Linked DNA regions of Homo sapiens: region 2 is linked to region 1. Evidence: promoter capture Hi-C in human tissues and cell types (Jung and others, 2019). All regions are on one chromosome and are shown on one strand. Each heading gives the region's core, a stretch centred on a gene start or on the middle of the fragment in contact. The rest is flanking DNA. Distances are from core to core; before and after follow the strand shown.

Region 1 (2,700 bases), core at 171-2,670:
TCAGCCTGACTCTCAGTGTAAGGCCGTCTGACTGCAGGGGAGCCTTGCTTTACTCAGAGAGGCCACGGATCTTCTCTTTGCCTTCTAGCCCCTGCAGAAGCTGTGCATGACAGAGTACTCTGTCTTTCCAAAGCTGATTTATAACTGAAGGAGAACAAAAACTTGGTCAGAATCATGAATGCCCTAGATGCCTTTGAAGAGTGGAGAGACATGACTGGACTAGGGTTGGACTGGAAGAGATGGTCAAGAAGGTACTTAAGAAAAGGGGTGTCTGCAAGGGAATCACCCAGAGTCAGAGGCAAAACAGCCAGGAGCAGCAGCTTTGAGGCAGGGTTGGATTCTTGCTCCGGCAGTTAGAAATGCTGCAAACTCAGACAAGTTGCTGTTAGCTCAGCGGTAGGATGAGCCCTGATCCCTTTTGCCCCAATTGCCTACTGGATTCAAGGAGAAAATGGACAAGAAAGGGTTCACAAACCATTCATATTAGAAACAGACAAATATCCATTATATAACCAATGTTCCACCAGCTCCAATGAGAAGTAAGTATAATAGCTACTATTTTTGAGCACCTATTTTGTGCCATGCTTTTTCATCTATGTGTTTGAAACTTTATGGTTATTATCAGCCCCACTTTACATAGAGGGGAACTGAGAATCAGAGAGGGCAAGTGACCCTCCAAAGTTCATTAGCTGTTAAAAGGCAGAGTAGGGATTTGAACTGTGAACCTTGTTTCATTTTAGTTTAATGAGGACAGGTTCTTCTGGTGTCAGCTGGGTTCAGCAGGGTGTCCCTGCACCCCTCGCCCAGTGGCTGGCAGAGGATTTTTAAGAAGAGAGGAGGGAAGGCAGAAAAAGACAGGAGTAGAACATGAAGAAGTCTACCTCGGGGCTCCATTTTGTTCCATGTTGCAGTGAGGAACAGAGGATGAACAACCACCGTGAGGGGACAGGCTGAGTTACCACCCTGGGGTGATTTAACAATTCAGTAATGTATGAGTGTCATTCCGTATGTTTGAACTCTCCATTTGCTTATTGGCACCATAGTCCCTTATCTCTCTCCCTCTCGAGTTTCTTTCTCTTCTTTGACCTTTCTAGCCTCCTTATTTCATGCGTGTACATTCTTGTCTTTTTCCTTCTGCCTCTTCCCTCTTCACCAGTCGGACAGACTGTATCAGCGAATCCCTCTACAGTGTCGTATCTAACTTTTTTATTCATTGCATGATTTATTTTTAGCCTGAAACAACTGCATCCTAAAAATGGAGTTCCTAATGAGACAGAGGCTGAGCAGAGCTATGTAAGGTATCTGGGGCTTGGCCTCCCAGCCTCCCTAGCTTGGCTGTTTTTCTACTCTCATGCGTGCGTGCGTGCGTGCGTGTGTGTGTGTGTGTGCCTCTGCTCTTTGTCCTGAGCCCACGATTCCAGAGCTGGCTGGACCCAAGGAGGTGAAGAGTCACTTTTCAGCCCCAGGAAGGGCAAAGAAGAGAGAAAATCAGCCTGTCTGCTCTCTCCTTGGCTCAACAAGGCCTCTAACAGTCTTCTGTCCTCTATTCTGCACACAGCATATTTGGGAACGAGAAACAAAAGTTTTCCCAAATGAAGAGAACTCACTTGTTTATTGTGGGGATTTATTTTCTGTCCTCTTGCAGGGCAGAAGAGGGGCTTAATTTCCCCACATATGATGGGAAGGACCGAGTGGTAAGTCTTTCCGAGAAGAACTTCAAGCAGGTTTTAAAGAAATATGACTTGCTTTGCCTCTACTACCATGAGCCGGTGTCTTCAGATAAGGTCACGCAAAAACAGTTCCAACTGAAAGAAATCGTGCTTGAGGTAAGTAACCAAAGGGCATGCTGTCTGCGCTGCCTCAGTGAGGTGCCGAGGGAATGCCTTTGGCCAGGGGTTGGGATATGGGAACGAGGATGCAGAGAATATATACTGAACTCTGCTTTATTTTGGCCTCACGTGAATCAGATGCCCTTGTCACACAGCTGGGATGTGTGAACAATGAGGGGTGGGTCCTAACTCTTCAAATGAAGAGGACCAAACGTGCTACACTACGATGGGTCTGATGTAAAGTCTTTATGGCCCCCTTGACTTTTCAAGGGCCCTTGTCCCAGCCATTGTTTCCCAGATAGAATGTAGAAACTATTGTTAAAACTGTTGGCTGAAATGAAATCCAGGGACTACTTGTGGATTTCATTCAGTGTGCCCACTTTGCTCCCTCAAATCTCCCCATGATCCTGGAGAGACCAGAGTTACTTGACCTTGCGTCTCTCTGGGGGTCAGACGGAGAATATCACTAAATGACTTTCCTCTCTCTTGTTTTGCGTCAGTCAGCATTACAGAATGTAGTTGTGTGCAGATCTTCTGAGCAGCATATTCATTTATGTGATTTTTTTTCTCAGAAAGTTCTTGGTGTGACTTTAGGGCAGAGCTGAAGTCAGTTCTTATTTTATCCGCATTACATGGCCTGCCTGTTTGTAACCTGGCACTGGGGCCCATTTTCTAATCCTTTGCGAGTGCCCCAGAAACTATTCCTGCAGCTCCTCCTGGACAGCTTAAGATGGCTTACACTTTAAGAGGGCCTGAGGGTGCCAAGAATGCTAGTGGGCACCAAGATGCCTCATCAGTCTCCACGCCTAGCCCAGGCGCAAACCTGTGAAAGGGATATTTGAGAATTACAGTTTATTAACCAGCACAATCA
Region 2 (2,700 bases), core at 3-2,502, 1.1 Mb after region 1:
AATCTAGGGTAATTACTGAAAGTTAATACTGGAATTTATTTTACATAATATACTGTTACTATAAAGTTTGATAATACATAAGTGAAGCTTGCTACTGGGAATGACTTGGAACCAGAGTTGTTGTAATTAGAGATCACGAAGGAATTTCAGAGAGGAAAACATCTCCAAGAAACATCTTTCAGTATGTAATGGAAAAGATAGGCCAGGCACAGTGGCTCACACCTGGAATGTCAGTGCTTTGGGAGGCCAAGGCGGGAGGATCACTTTCAGCCCAGGAGTTGGAGACCAGCCTGGGCAACAGAGCAAGACCCTGTCTCTACAAAAATAAAAATAAAAAAATTAGTCACACATGGTGGCAGCTACTCGGGAGGCAGAGGTGGGAGGATCACGTGAGCTCAGGAGGTCGAGGCATGCTCACTCCACTGCACTGCTGCACTCCAGCCTAATCAACAGAGCAAGATTCTGTCTCCAAAAAAAATAAAAAATAAAATGATAGGAGTAAGCAAATAGGAAGTCCATAAAGATGAAAACAAAGCAAGGGAACATAAAGATAGACTTTGTCCATAGAACCATAAAGTTTCAAAGCTAGATTGGACCATAAAAATTCTAGTACAATATTCTTATTTTGCAGAATCAGAAACAGAGTTCAGAATGTCGTTTGTTAGGTTTTGGAGTCAGGATTGTTATTAGTAGCAGAGCCAGGACCAAAAACCCAAAGCTCCTTTTTCTTAGCACAGTGTTCTTAAACAGAATAATATAATGGTTAAGAATGAGAACTCTGCCTGGATTGAAACCTAGCTCTGTTTATTAGCGACGTGACTCAGGGGCTATGTGGCTTTCCTAACCTATAATATGGAAATAATAATACCTACCTCATAGAGTTGTGAAGATTACAGTTTTAATAAATACGCAAATCACTCAGAATAGTGCCTGGCACACAGTAAATGCTACTTAAGTGTTCTGCCTAAAGGCTTGAGTCTTGGCTTATTTTCTATCCATGTGAAGATGTCTGCTCTCAAAAGCAGATTGGTCCAACACTGAATTCAAGTGTTCTTTTCCTAACCTGTTGTACTTCCCATTTTTTTTTTGTCTAAAAGTAATAGCAGTACTTAATAAAATGCCCACACTTGGCATGCATCTAATAAATGTTTTTTGAATTTCTAGAAGTCATTTTTCTTCTTTCTTACAAGAAATTTATTCATTTTTCTATATGCCTTAGCTCAAACCAAAGAGTATTTAAAACATCTTATGAAAATGCATATAGTAGAGCAAGATAAGATTAATGAAAAATAGGCTTAAGTGAGACCAAAAAAATAAGGGTAAAATAAACAAATTTAGGAGTGAGCATATTCTGTGATTGTGCATGAAGTTCCAGTGGCTTTCTAAAGGTGGACTACAAATTTGGTCACTGTTGTGAAAAGGAAAGTAGCCAGCTGAAAGATTCAGTATCTGTATGCTGAAAGCCGTTAAGTTGCTCGGACTAGAAGGAAATTTTCCCATGGATCCTCAAAGAGGCTTGTTTAATGTAAAAATCAGTAGTAACCTGACAGTGACATGGTCCAGGTACTTTAGGCTGTCTTATCCCTTAATGTAGGCTATTACCATCAAGCACAGTTTTGCAAATAGCCAGTGGAATGTAGTTCAGATACATGACTTTGTGGGTAATCCAGGGGTAGAGACTAAAACAGTACTGTGCAGTATGTGGTTATTTACAGTTAATTAAGATTAAATAAAATTTAAAAATTAGTTCCTTGACTACCAAATGCTCAATAGCCACTAGTAGGTACCATGTTGAACAGTACAGATATAGACCATTTCCATCATCACATAAAGTACTGTTGGATTGTGTTGGTCAAGACAATCTAAAGCAATTGTTTCCCAGGTGTGCTGTGTGGTGTGCCTTACATGTCATTGAAAGGGGTGCTGTCAGGAGTTCTAGATGCTTCAGCCTCCCTTTACTAAGAGCAGTTCTTATGTTTTCTATTTTATCGCTTGGGCTTCCAGATACAATGTTTTGTTTTAGGTTTGTTTTTTTTGTTTGTTTGTTTTTTTTTTTTTGAGACGGAGTTTTGCTCTGGTTGCCCAAGCTGGATGGAGTACGGTGGTGCGATCGCGGCTCACTGCAACCTCCGCCTCCCGGGTTCGAGAGATTCTCCTGCCTCAGCTTCCCGAGTAGCTGGAATTACAGGCGTCCACCACCATGCCTGACTAATTTTTTTTGTATTTTTAGTAGACTTGGGGTTTCACCATGTTGGCCGGGCTGGTTTCAAACTCCTGACCTCAGGTGATCCACCCGCCTCGGCCTCCCAGAGGGCTGGGATTACAGGTGTGAACCACCGTGCCCGGCCTGTTTTAGTTTTTTAGAGATGGAGTCTCCCTCTGTTGCCCAAGCCAGAGTGCGGTGGCATGACACTCTCAGGGTTCAACCTCTCAGGGATCAAGGGATCCTCCCACCTCAGCTTCCTGAGTAGCTGGAACCACAGGCACATGTGCCACCATGCCCAGCTAATTTTTGTATTTTTTGTAGAAGCAAGGTTTCACCATGTTGCCCAGGCTGGTCTCGGACTCCTAGGTCAAGTGATCCTCCCACCTCAATCTCCTAGAGTGCTAAGACTATAGGCGGGAGTCACCATGCCCAGCTTCATCTACAATTTATTTGAAGAAAATGTTTGAGCACCACCCATCTTGAAAAGTGATAGA

What was found. Contacts are between HindIII fragments. The study calls those that stand out against the background at their distance.
Region 2: a fragment that was not itself captured here is called in contact with the fragment with the promoter of CASQ2 in region 1 in 1 of the 25 tissues and cell types used here (adrenal gland).

What each region holds. Positions count from the first base shown.
Region 1 is chr1:115,767,434-115,770,133 of GRCh38, reverse strand. CASQ2 (calsequestrin 2) reads left to right here and starts at 1,420. Exons shown (of 11, transcript NM_001232.4): 1 at 1,420-1,826. The coding sequence starts at 1,593. The HindIII fragment of the contact is 10,019 bases long and covers 1-2,700 here.
Region 2 is chr1:114,710,964-114,713,663 of GRCh38, reverse strand. All of the region lies in intron 3 of NRAS (NRAS proto-oncogene, GTPase), which reads left to right. Among named protein-coding and RNA genes, the nearest start is that of NRAS, 4.5 kb to the left of the region's middle. The HindIII fragment of the contact is 7,324 bases long and covers 1-2,700 here.